Linked DNA regions of Homo sapiens: regions 2, 3 and 4 are each linked to region 1. The links are contacts of gene promoters, found by promoter capture Hi-C in human tissues and cell types (Jung and others, 2019). All regions are on one chromosome and are shown on one strand. The core of a region is centred on a gene start or on the middle of the fragment in contact, and the rest is flanking DNA. Distances in the headings are between cores, read along the strand shown.

Region 1 (3,373 bases), core at 225-2,724:
TCTCTTCACCTCCCCTCTCCTCCTCCAACCTCTGCCATCCCCTCTGTTCAGCAAATTCCATACACATTTAGACATCAAGATTCACCCGGCAGTCAACCACCCAGCATTGCAGCCCAAGTCTTGGCTCTACTGTTCTTTAGCTGGTGACCTCAAACCACTTAGTTCCCATCTCTGTGCCTCAGTGTCCTCATCTGTCAATTGGGAATAATAATGGTGCCCACTGCACGGAGTTGTTGAGAGGTTCAAAGAAGGTGACAGATGCAGAGACAGCCTGACACTGTCGGCACACAGACCATTAGGCAAGTGTTAGCTGCTGTTACAGGTACCATTGATTGTGGTGGTGGGAGAATTCCCATCTTCCACCCCACAGTTGGTCTCTCCCTGCCTCAAACCCCTGGCTTTGTCCTAAACCCCATTTCTAAGTTTTATAGTGCTTTGCTCTTCTTCTTGTCATGTTTACATCAAAAATCACCCATCAGAGAGATAAAAGCAGGGAGGAGGCATTTTATTTCTGAAGTTGTTAATTTTATCCTAGACTTCCAAGAAAAGAATCATCCATCTGTCAAAAAGAGACAGAGAAGATAAAAGATCTTTAAAAGTAATTATTTAAGTGCCAACCAAGAGGAAATGAAGATGCATTTGGCTCGGTTATTGAGTTGAATTAGAGAATGGTGTTGTACCACCGCTAATCTGCTTCATAGATGAGAAAAAAGGAGAAGATGATTTTAGAAAAACAAACGTGCTGTCAGTTGGCCCCAGTAAAACACATTCTGTATAAACAAGTTTAGAGAAGTGACTTTGGATTTGCAAAATTGTAGCTCTTCTTCTGCCGGGGCCGCCTCCGGTCTTAGAGCCACAGATCTATACACACGGATGTTTCCCAGTTCCTACTACTTTTTGCATTTCTTTCCCTGGTGCTCTGATTAACTGCAGAGGTAGTTTGTACAACTGAGCCATGAAATGCCACCCAACGGCCAGCCCTTTCCCCACCTTGTCCCCTTCCCTTCCATGGCTTGCATTCACCAGATGACCACCTGCCCACTCACATTCTGAAAGGTATCACCGCGGGAATCATGCAAAGACACGCATCTTCGTAAGAGAATAAAACATTTGGCTTTCTCTTCTGAGCTCTAAAACCCAAAGCACTTTTCAAAGTCACCATTCAATCAGAAAGCAAACCTTTCTCCTCCTCAGGCTAATTGTAGAAGTTGCAAACTTAACCAATTTCTGCACTTACCATTCAAACCAAGAGATTAATCCTGTCAGTTCTCCAAGCAAATAATTACAGGATTAATTTGTTCCTCAGCACTGCTAAGTCCCTCACATTTCCTGAGACTAATCCTTCAGCCGAGGTCCCTTCTCACTCCTAAGTTTCCCTCTCCAGGTCGAAGCATCACTCACCTCACTCATGTTGGCTCTAACTCAACAGCTCAGTCCCGCCGCTCAGCACAGAGAACACTGCTCAGGGGTCGCTGCTCCACCGGTTCTGGCTTTTCTCTTAAAAAGAGCTGCCCGGTGGCATCATGCCTCCCTGGAGCCAATGAGATGCATTCACCTGTCTGCAAGCCTGGCCGACATCTGAGAGCACCAGGGGCCACCTAGTGGTGCAAAAGAGAACGGCACGTTAGGTCGCTGCTCCAAATTCCGCCAGGATGGAAGGAAATGCTCGATTTCTTTAAAAAGTAATACACTCCAGCCTGGGCAGCAGAACGAGACCCTGTCTCTTTTAAAAAAAAAAAAAAAGTAAAAAGTAAAAGCTAAAGTTTCAAAGATCATCACAGGGATGCCATTGTGCGTTTTTCAATGAGTGCAAGATTTACATGCATGTAAAATACCTTTCAAATGTCAATGGGAAGGATTGTTTTTCTAAGGGAAGAGGAGCTCTGAAAATACCTGCGTGCCCGCTCACGCACTTTCAGGTTTTCCCAGGAGCTGTGTTTCCCTTGCCCTTTATAACACAAAACTCAGCCCAAGGACTTTAATATCTCTGCTGTCTCTCCCCTATCCCATATCTGTCGCCCTGCTTGTACCCTGAGCTGGAAGGATAAGAGTAGATGGACTGGGACATGGGAATGGGTCCCCACGACCTCAACAAAGGAGGCGAGCGGCTCCAGCAGCCTTGCTGATGTGCCCTCCTCACAACCACAGTGGGGCCAGGAAGGAGCCTGGGCATTGGCCCTGGCCTGGTTGAAGGTCTCCTTGCCTTAGTCCTGTTCAGCTTTTCCGGGAAGAGGTTCCATCCTTTGTTCAGTCCCAACATCGTGAGGCTCTGAAGAGTCTTCAAGGCATCAGAGTGGGCCCTCAACTGTCCCAAAAAAGCGTTGTGCAGACTGAAGGCACATTCACATCTGTTACTCTGCCAGTCCCGGTACAGGACTGAGAGGGTCTGGCGAGAAGATTGAAGCGTCTTGCCACCCGTCCCCAGCACCCCTCATCTCCCTGTGCAGAGCAGGCCACCAGACTCCAGCCCATCAACCCTCTCTCCTCAGCTCAGCAGCCCCACGCCCTCTGACCTGGACTGCCCTCCTTACATGCCCAGGTCACCGATGCGACCACATCCTCAGGTCCACCTTGGACAGCAAGCAGAAGGCCATGCGCCCCCAAATGGGCACCGGCGAGCACAGGCTGCCCTCAGAGGCCTTGGCCAGGAGCACCAGCTGGTCAGCACCCTCGCCCACAGCGTGGGAACACCAGCCAGCAAGACAGAGTCTCATACATGAGTTATTATAAAATAACCTATATTTCACAGAGCGACAGAAATGAACATTATATATATTATATAAAATATGTGTGTTATATTCGTTTCTTTTATATGTATATAAATTATTTATTTACATATCCTGACCACACAAATCATTTGCAAACTAATGAAGACAGCATCCTCCTTCTCTCACTCCCCTCCTCCTCCTTGCCCCCAATGCCACGCTTGGGAAGGCCCACGTGGGATGCCTTTAGGGTTGCCCAGGTGGTTAGTAGTGGGAGAGAAGGAGGAGGAGGGCAGGGTGAGGAACTGGAGCCATAGTGTCATCTGCGATGTAGGACAGATTGACAGATTGGAAGAAGGGTGCTTGCTTATCTATACTAGGAGACACCTGTGATTTCTCAGGGGCAAAAACCACACCCTCCCCAGGGGCCTCCTGCCCTGTTGGGGGCTGGACCCCCACAGCCTGGAGGTGTAGAAGGGGTCTCCCAGTGTGAGCCTCCATGGGGTCCCTGCTGTGGTCCTCCAGGCTGTGCAGAGGGCATGTGGAGAATCAGCCTGTGCTCTGCTGGCTGGCTCTGGAGCAGACCTGCATTTTCTAACAACACAAAGACACATCAAGGGCTGCAGCAGCCTGAGGTTGGCAGCACAGCAATTAGTGCTGAGGCTCCA
Region 2 (3,107 bases), core at 52-2,551, 230 kb before region 1:
AAGTTTTTTTAATTGCATGTTAACAATTAGCTATCAGAGCTTTTTAAAACATCACATTTCCTTATAGAATTAGTTTTTCATTAAAAAGTTAATTGAAATTTTTAAAAGTAGAATTCCTTTTATATCAGACAGGCTGAATAGTTTGACATGAACAGCCTATGGCTTTGTAGTCATTTTATCCTCATTATTTCCTATCGTACTCAAATCATTTCTAGGTCATTACTAAACTCACCTAGTACAACAAGAATTTCTTCAGTGTATTCCAGTTACTGGTCATTGAGTCCCAGCTCTAAGCAATGCTCTGAACCAGGTTCCCTGCAGAGTGAGTAGAGGGATGGGTGAGTAAAAGGAGTAGAGGGATGGGTCGGGGAGCCTGACCCCTGGGGAGATGCAGTAAGCACATGCAAGACCATAACCCACAGTGGAATAAAGGCAAAGGCTATGAAAGACAAAGGGCAGACTTAGCCCCTGATTGAGAGGACTAGAGAAGGCTCTGCAAGGTCTTACAAGTGCAGCTACAAGCTAAGTAATGTGAGGGGTTCGGAAATGAATTTGGCAATTATTGGGTAAACGTCTAGTTTTATAGACATGACCAAAGAGTGTTTAAAGTGCCTCACTGTGGCTAATTATATCTTATTTACTGGTCAAAAGCATCTTACACATGAAAAGAAAAATATTATATCAACACCACAAGGCAACAATAATTGTGGAATGAAGGCAGGTCTAGAAGACGCTGTTCCCAGGCTTTCCATGAGTTGACCCTGAAGCACTAGGAGAAAACTAACTTCCTCACAACCCTTACACTCTTTTGACTGGAAGAGTAAACTGTGCACATTTAGTTCCTTAGGAACCCACGACTCTACCCAGCAGACCTAAAGCAGTAACATACAAAGACAAAACGCTTGAAATGTGAACGCTCTGGCTTGGGTGTCACAAGATTTATCCCATTTACTGTATTTTCCACTCTGGATACGGCTTTGGGGAGGCAAACATGTCAGAAGTCTTGTAAAACCTTGCTATAAATATTTTTTAAAACAAATATATGAAGTTTCCATTTATTTTTTAGGCATCTTATAAATATTCATCCATGTCTTCAACTATGACAGGGTTGGTTTTAGAGAAAGGTTCAAACGAGTTTATATCTAAATTTTAGTAGGAATTGGTCAGACTTCTATGGTGCCTCATTTTAAATTAATCTGTTTGCCAAGCTGTGGTCACTTCTTGCTCCCCGGGGGCAGGAACTTGCCTTATAATCTACACACTGCAACTGAACTCAGTAAATGACCATTAATTGAAACTCAGTAATTATTTACAAGCCCTTCCTATTACGAGGCATGAAGCTAAGAACTTTTGCCTAGATTTTCTTCCCACAGCCCAAAGGAGAGAACGATAGTCCAACAAGCTTCTATGTCTGGCTCATGGGGTCCTATAACTCTCGCCAACATCCCTTATCCACAGACCTCCATACTTTGAAGGCAGCAGTGTCTGCCTGGACCCCCCCCCACCACCTCCCACAGTAAAAACCATGACCAGCCCACTGTAAGAATAGTATTTGAGATGGTTCATTACATAAGCAACATGCATATTTTACATTTTATGTGTGTGTCCTCAGACCAAATACCCAAATCTTCCCCTAAGAACACTGTGGATTGCCCCTGTTACATGACATCGGTAGAGCAGGATTCCCCAACCCCCGGGCTACGGACTAATACTAGGGACCTATACTGCATGCTTCTTATGGGAATCCAACTAATGCCTGATGATCTGAGGTGAAACAGTTTCATCCCAAGACCATCCCATCCTACCACGTCCATCCATCTGTGAAAAAAAAAACTGTCTTCCACGAAATCTGTCCCTGATGCCAAAAAGGCTGGGGACCGCTGAGCCAGAGAGAGCCCTGTTCTTCTCATGCCACCATGTTATCTGGTGGACCAAGAAATCAGTAACTTGGCAGCCACTTAGAGCCTTTCAATTGAGAAGTGATTAATTAATAATAAATGTTGGCTTGCTTCTCAACTTGGATAGAGCCTACATGTTTAAACACATTTTAGATGAGAAATAACAGGCTTTTTCCTCAGCTAGCCAAGAGGAATATATGACAGATGCAAAATAATTGGCAACCCCAGTCCACAAATGTCCCATCCACTTCCTCAAGCTGGGCATAGACAGAGCAGGATTAAAAATAAGCCATGGAAGGGAATCCCTGGCATTCTGGTTCAGGGACATGGGGGATGGGATCCCTCAAGTCCATGCCTGGCGGCAACTTCGTAATGTTGGCTGTTTCTGTATTTCCACAGGTCACAAAGGAACTCTTATGTCTTCTCTTCAAACAAATGGTTAGCACAATTACTGTAGTCCACTCAAAATTAATTCACACTTTAGGCATAACAAAATCTAGGATGACTGACACGTCTGTCTTAACTCTAAAGAAGATGAGACTGGAGAGTTCAAAGTCTACCTGAAGAAAATGAAATATTTAAATATTAAGAAAAGTGTCTCTGTTGCTTCCCCACAGATTTCTCCTTTTGCCACATTTGGTTCATTAATCCCTAAGAAACTCCATTGTGAGTTTGCCCTTCTTTATACCGCAGTGTTTATCTGTTGTCCTTGATAGCGAAGCTTTGCTTTGTTTCTTTAAAAAAAAAAAAAAAAAAGATTCAGAGTCTCTGAAATAGCAACCCAGCTGATATATCAGGCGAAATCTGGAAATCAAAGTGATCCCTTCTCATTGAACATTCTCTATATTTGGAAGAGAGTGCTACGTAATAAAATATGCATGTAGAAATTAGCAAGTCAGTTTACACACTATTGGATTGTTGTGTTGGAAAATCTGGTATCCAATAAAAAGAAAATTAATGAAATATAAATATAGTCCATGCTATCCTAACTTAATAAAATATGGAGGGAAATATTTCAAAAGGAGATGATATTTATCATCCCTTCTTTTCAGAACAAGCATTTTTGGCTGAGCATTAAAAAGGATTTAATCAACTAGATTGGCTCCACTACACTGAGAGAACTTCTGGTTATTTTCTTCCCATTTTGCTCTTTTTTTCTTTTTTCTCCTACCTACTGTTAAAATGGTTAATAATGATTGAGTTATGCAC
Region 3 (3,182 bases), core at 181-2,680, 180 kb before region 1:
TGATGTCTCAGAGAAGCTTTTGACAAACACATAAATCCAGAGTTCAAATCAATGTTAGCTTAATGAAAAGCCAAGCCCAAAGAGAAAAGAGAGCTCCTTCTCTGCATAGTCATGGTTCTTCTTAGCTCATTGCTCCCAAAGCCAACCCCTAGGAAGAAGCTTCTATTCCTAGCACTCTAGAGTAATGCTAATTCAGTGCTTGAATTTTCAATCATTTTTGTCACTTTAGATGGGGCTATTATTGTGGTTGTCATTAACAATAACACAAGTGCCTCAGGAGAGAAAAGGCCAGGGAGTGGTTGGAAGGGAGATAAACGTGTTTGGCTTTCTGTGTTCCTGCCATCCTGTAGATGATCGCTCCACGGTTCTGTTGACGGATGCTGACTTTGGAGAGGCAGCTAAGCAGAAGTCCCTGACGGTCACTCACACGGTCCATTACCAATCGGTGTCTCAGGCCACTGGGCCCTTAGTGGATGTTTCAGACGCTCGGCCGGGAACGAGTGAGTGGTCAACAATGCTTAAAATGTGTGGGTGTTAACAATGCTGAAAACATAGTAATGTTCTTTCTCTCTCAAATGAAAATGTGTGGCTTTTCATACCTATGCCTGAGAAACAAATGGGTATAATAACATCCCTAATTGGGATAATGAGCTGTTATTGATGGATCTTGGCTATTATTATGTCAGTTGAATTACTGTTAGTATTGGTTACTATAAAAAGTGCTAGAAATTTCAGGTACATGTATTTATTTTTTTAATTTAAGCAACACAGAAAAGGAAAAAAGTAATCTACTTTAGTGTGTATCTGCTGTATGCCAGTATTGGGATAGAACGATGATGTCATGCACGTTATCTTTGCAACAATCCTGTAAGATACCTACTCGTGAAGCAGGTATCATAGCCTCTATTCTGCAGATGAGAAAACTGCAGCCTCAGATAAATTATGCAAACAGTATAAAGTTGCACACATAAGTAGTAAAACCAAGATTCAGAAACAGACCCATCTATCCCCAAAGCTTATGCTTTTGCCCCTGAACACACTGTTTGAGAAAAATTATAATTCTAGTTAATGTGAAGATTATGTTGGATTTTGTTATTAATATTTGCATCCATAATATATGGAAATTAATTACTGCAATGAAGGTGAATCCCCTAATATGTATCTAGAGCTTATTAATTAGATACTCTTATTTCTTCATAATTGGAATCGTTCCTAAATCTCTTTAAAGACTGAGAAATTGATGTCCTGATTATTATCATTTTGGAAACTTTGACGTCTAGCTTTCAAATCTCTAATCAATTTCTTTGCAAAAATTTACATTCTTAGAATAGTGTGTTATTATTAGAAAAATAACTATTATAATGTTAAAAGCTATTCTTCATAAATCCTAGCTTGGGAAGCATTTGCGAAATGCAGTGAGCTTTATGAAGTAAACCCATTGCCTACGAAATAACATTGTAATATACAGAAAACAGTTTCAGCAGGCATTGAAATTCATTTAAAAAATGTTTTCAAGAATATTCTACATTCTAAAGAAGTCTTTTACCTCTTCCTTTTGTCTAATCTTCTTACCGCCTTTCTTCTTTGATCACATTAATACATTCTGAAGACATAAACGGGATATGAGTGGGAATTAGCTTTGCAAAGGGGTGTGTGCCAGAGCCTTGCTCTTAAAAAATGATCCAGACTGGGCGCAGTGGCTCAATCCCAGCACTTTGGGAGGCCGAGGCGGTCGGATCACGAGGTCAGGAGATTGAGACCATCCTGGCTAACATGGTGAAACCTCGTCTCTACTAAAAATAAGAAAAATTAGCCGGCCTGGTGGCGGGCACCTGTAGTCCCAGCTACTCAGAAGGCCGAGGCAGGAGAATGGCGTGAACCTGGGAGGCAGAGCTTGCAGTGAGCTGAGATCACGCCACTGCACTCCAGCCTGGACGACAGAGCGAGACTCTGTCTCCAAAAAAAAAAAAGATTCAAGGGCTTTGACATCTCTTCAGCCGTTGGCTTCTCCCTTGTGAACTGCCTGGTGTGGCTTGCTGCTACTCCAAGACACTGCTCCAATGGGTTTAAGAGCCACTTTTTTGCTGCTAAATCAGAAAAAGTTACAGATATTGAAAGGATTAGATTTTTAGAGTGATGCAGCATTGGCTTCAGCATTCTGTTGGAAACGGTGGCAGAAGAGCAGGCAAAAGAGACAACAGAGCAGATGCCCTGGGTCTCGTTCTCCACCTTTACATGCATCAGAATCACCTGGTGCCTATTTAAATATCAATTCCAGGCCTCCACCCAGAGATTCTGGCCTAGGAATCCGCATGGTAACAGACACCCTGGGTGATTCTGATGCTGGCCGTTTGGACCCCACATTGAGAAACACTGCCCCAAGGGTTAGAAATGTTTCCTGCATGTAACGCAGCAGGGCAGGACCCCTCCGGCACATCAGTTCTTCCTGCCAGGTAAAAAGCAACATGCATTTCTGCTTCCCTGTCAATGGTCAGCTAGCAGCCGAGAATGCATAAAGCTAGTCATAAATAGTTAAGACAGGAGAAGCAGCAGCCCAAAACAAAAGCACTGGCAACCTTCCAGCTTCATGGTCAGCCCCAGAATAATGGGGAAGTTGATTTGTTGGCATGTAAAATATCAACAGAGACATGAACCGGAGTCACAGCAGATACTGTAAACCAGTGGTCAGCGAGTGCCAGGCAGGACGCACATGGGAGGGACGTGTGTGTATCTCATGGCTATAAAGTTGGAAGCAGGGCTGGGAATGTTAATGCGTTCATTCAGCACTCAAAAGTATTTATTCAGGTTTCACTTTACGTATATGGCTCAGTGCTGTATGATGGAGATACACCATGAGTAAGATGCAAAAAGACATTCATTTCATCCTAGTCAGGGGGCAGACATTAGACATGGAACTAAAGTAGTTTTCATTTCTCAGTAAGTCCTAGACAGAAAGAGAATGAAGCCATGGTGAGTCAGCGGGCGTGTGGAGCAGTGGGAGGGGCTCTCTTGGGTCCAAGTCATTCAGGAGGACTTCCAGTGAGGGGAAGACATGAAACAAGATCAGAGTCACAGCAGGAGCAGAGGGGGCAGCAGGGAAAAGCTCCCAAGGTTCCCCGCATGATGAGGATGGAAGTGGCACTGGAGCACAGTGAAAGGCAGGGAAAAGGTGAGACAGAGAA
Region 4 (3,512 bases), core at 95-2,594, 200 kb before region 1:
ACTAATGCTTCCCATTGTTTCGCTCCTCTTTCTTCTCCATAGTACTTCACTATACACCATCCTGCCTTAGTCTCTCAATAGCCATGCAAAATGGTTGAGTATGAACTGCCCATTATGATGCCCCAATTTTCTTTCTTTTCTTTTTCTTTTTTTTTTTTTTCTGAGACAGAGTTTTGCTCTTTTTGCCCAGGCTGGAGTGCAATGGTATGATCTCAGCTCACCACAACCTCCACCTCCTGGGTTCAAGCGACTCTCCTGCCTCAGCCTCCCAAGTAGCTGGGATTGTGGGCATGCACCACCATGCCCGGCTAATTTTGTATTTTTAGTAGAGACGGGGTTTCTCCAAGTTGGTCAGGCTGGTCTCGAACTCACAACCTCAGGTGATCCGCCTGCCTCAGCCTCCCAAAGTGCTGGGATTATAGGCATGAGCCACTGCGTCCAGCCATCATACCCCATTTTCTGACGTGAAAACTGAAGGCCAGCTATAGAATTATCCAGAATCACATATGAGTCCAGGCAGAGCTAGAAGAGAGTTCAGATCAATCTCCCTACCCTACTCCTCTTGCCATGAAACTTCTGCAGGATTTTGAATATTCAAGTAAGAAACAGGTTGTCTCATCAATATTAAGTAAGCTCTAAAGGTTTATCAATTATACCTGGAATTAGAAGATGTATTAACACAGTATCAATAGCTACTATATAATTTTATGTTTGCCCATCAAAAATACTTGGTCTATTGATTTTGTATTTCGATATTCACTACCCTTCAGCCTTCCCCTAATTATATTTTAAATATGTATATATTATATACAGAGAGAGGCACATATACATATTCCTTCTAGCTTGCATATCTTCATCCTACTGTCTCTCTGATTCTTTTCTCCACTGAATACTTGAGAGTATTCTGTCCTCAGCTACACTACCTCTCAATTACTCCCAAATTCCCACAGTCCCCTTCCACTCGCCACCCAAATGTAACTGTTCTCCTGAAGACAGATGACCAGTTATTCTCTGATCTCCAAATTATCCTTTCAGCCATCATTTTTTAGCCCTCTTTGCAGCATTCAGAGTGTTAGCAAATGTTGTCTTTTGAAATTCCTTCCTTCCACATTTTAATATCACTAGATTATCCTGGTATCATTTCTCCATCATTTCCCAGCCCAACAGATAAGGGAGGAGCCCAGAGCCAAGGATGGAAGTGTGGGAGTAGCAAGCGGCTTTAGAAAAGATGTCGCGAAGTCTGAATCTCAGGCTGATCTGAAATGTGTGGGAAAAAATGTGACAGGCAATGCAAGGGCTGTTTAGCTGTGTTTGGGCAAGAAGAACAAGGCTGTGAACAATGTTCTCATATTAACAGATGGCAGGTAGACAGGAGAGCTGCTCAGCATCTGCTTTGCTTGATGTGTACCAGGAGAAATGCTATTTGAATCAGAAAACGTGGACCAGGAATTATAAAAAGAAGGAAGGAAGGAAGGGAGGGAGGGAGGGAGGGAGGGAGGGAGGGAATGAGGGGAGGGAGGGAATGAGGGGAGGGGAGGGGAGGGGAAGGGAGAAACTCAGGATGCTTATGAAAATAATCAGCACCCTGATAGTTTAAAAGGATTTATTTTTTTTCAAAACATACTCTGTATTAGCCATTATGTGGAGGTGGAGATGTTGCTTTTTGCAGACAATGTTTACAAAGAACTATTACACAAGTTCCAAAGCGTAAGCAGCCTAATGCAGACAGAATAAATGCTGTGCTGTTTCACTGAAAGGAAAGATCTCCACCACTTAAAAAATTAGGGAAGCTGTCATGGGGTTCCAGTCCCATGATTCTGAAGGATAACATTTTAGGGTTCTGAACAAAATTTTTCCAGACATAACCCCAAGATCTTTCTGGATAACCTTTGAACAATCAAATGTAAATTAGAGGTGTTAGAAAATGATTATGCAGATGGTCCCTGACTTACTATGGTTCAACTTAGGAGTTTTTGACTTTGCAATGGTGCAAAAATGATATGCATTCAGTAGAAACTGTATTTTGAATTTTGATCTTTGTCTGGGTTAGTGATATGTGATCCATTATTTTTACATGAGATACTCAACACCTTATTATAAAATAAGCTCTGTGTTAGATAGTTTTGCCCAACTGTAGGGTAGGGTAAATGTTCTGAGCACGTTGAAGATAGGCTAGGCTAAGCCCTGATGTTTGGTAGGTCAGGCATATTAAATGCATTTTTGACTTAATTATATTTTCAATTGATGATGGGTTCATCAGGAGGTAATCGTAAGTCAAAGAGCATCTAGACCCTGGACCCATTTTCAACAACAATAGATTAATTCTGGACATTATAGACTGAAATAAGTTAGTTGAGGTTATAGAAAGGATGTTTTGTGAGCAATCAGGGAAGGGAAGGGACCACCAGGGGCCCAGACAAACTCCATTTGCATTTTGACAGGGCTGATTAATAAGGGTACACCAGGATGTAGCTGAAAGCATGGGCAGGCTAATCCAATCTTGGAGGCCACATACATCCTGGTGGGGAAGCTAATGTATTAGAGGGACAAATCCACATTTTAAGAGATTTTGAAAGGCTGGAAGCAAGAAGATACAGTTTAATAGGAATAATTGTGAAGTCTTCTATAGAAGTTGTAAAAAAAAATTCATTTGCAACACGTATAATGAGCATTGTGCTCTCCCTAGTGTGCTAGAAGATCAAGAATTACCAGCGTCTTTCTCAGCCTCATTTTATAGAGAAATAAAAAAATCACAAACCTTTCAAAGAAGAGATTCCCAAGTAGGGAATTACCTAGAAATCATTCCGTATGAGGAGTGGCTGAGAAAATTAGAGAATGTAACCCAGAAAAGAGAAAGCTGAGGCCAAGCAAGGGAAATGCAGCTACATGGAAATATCTGAACAGCTGGCAAATGACTTCAGGTTAAAATTACATCAAGGAATTTCTGCACAAGAAAAGGAAGATGTCTCTCACAATTAAATGTGTCCTCAGGAAATCTTTGTGCAGCTTCACTATGGATCAGGGACAGGACTGTGCCCAAAAGGGCCAAGAGAAAGACAACCCGAAAACAGGTGGGCACAGTATGAGCTGGGAAGGGCTGTCTGAGATATAAGGCAGAGGTCCAGGGAAGCGGAGGGAACCGAAGCTTCACCCCTGCCTACTGGGCATGGGAGGGTACACGGAGCAAGTTGCGTCTGCATGGGGCGGTGGGGACGATGGAGGGCTTTGCACTAGCAAAGTCTTGGGCTCTCTGCAGAAAGTGGCAAGTGCAGGAAACTCAGAGAGAGGTTGGAGGTTACAAGTGAGCGGCAGCGGAGCCGGATGACAGCTTGGACCAGCACGGAAGGTGGGTTCTCTGTGCTAATGAGGGCTGTTGCAGTGAGGTCCCTTTGAAGGTTTCAAAGCACAGGTATCACTCAGTAAGATGGATTCCAGTCTTCACCCTTCCTGCAGTGTGGGTATCAGTGTTGGGCACACCAGCAGTAAGGATGCTGACTAATAAGTGAGATTAG

What was found. The method cuts DNA at HindIII sites, captures the fragments that hold promoters and counts their contacts. A contact is called where the count stands out against the background at its distance.
Region 2: a fragment that was not itself captured here is called in contact with the fragment with the promoter of PCP4 in region 1 in 1 of the 25 tissues and cell types used here (spleen).
Region 3: a fragment that was not itself captured here is called in contact with the fragment with the promoter of PCP4 in region 1 in 2 of the 25 tissues and cell types used here (dorsolateral prefrontal cortex and pancreas).
Region 4: a fragment that was not itself captured here is called in contact with the fragment with the promoter of PCP4 in region 1 in 1 of the 25 tissues and cell types used here (dorsolateral prefrontal cortex).

Annotation. Positions count from the first base shown.
Region 1 is chr21:39,865,539-39,868,911 of GRCh38, reverse strand. It overlaps PCP4 (Purkinje cell protein 4), which reads right to left and starts at 1,474. Exons shown (of 3, transcript NM_006198.3): 1 at 1,402-1,474. The coding sequence starts at 1,410. The HindIII fragment of the contact is 8,471 bases long and covers 1-3,373 here.
Region 2 is chr21:40,100,183-40,103,289 of GRCh38, reverse strand. The region is part of intron 20 of DSCAM (DS cell adhesion molecule); the gene reads left to right. Among named protein-coding and RNA genes, the nearest start is that of MIR4760, 110 kb to the left of the region's middle. RefSeq lists an enhancer at 170-671. The HindIII fragment of the contact is 4,253 bases long and covers 1-3,107 here.
Region 3 is chr21:40,049,276-40,052,457 of GRCh38, reverse strand. It overlaps DSCAM (DS cell adhesion molecule), which reads left to right. Exons shown (of 33, transcript NM_001389.5): 30 at 351-500. Among named protein-coding and RNA genes, the nearest start is that of MIR4760, 160 kb to the left of the region's middle. The HindIII fragment of the contact is 3,097 bases long and covers 1-2,978 here.
Region 4 is chr21:40,065,736-40,069,247 of GRCh38, reverse strand. All of the region lies in intron 27 of DSCAM (DS cell adhesion molecule), which reads left to right. Among named protein-coding and RNA genes, the nearest start is that of MIR4760, 140 kb to the left of the region's middle. The HindIII fragment of the contact is 4,719 bases long and covers 1-3,512 here.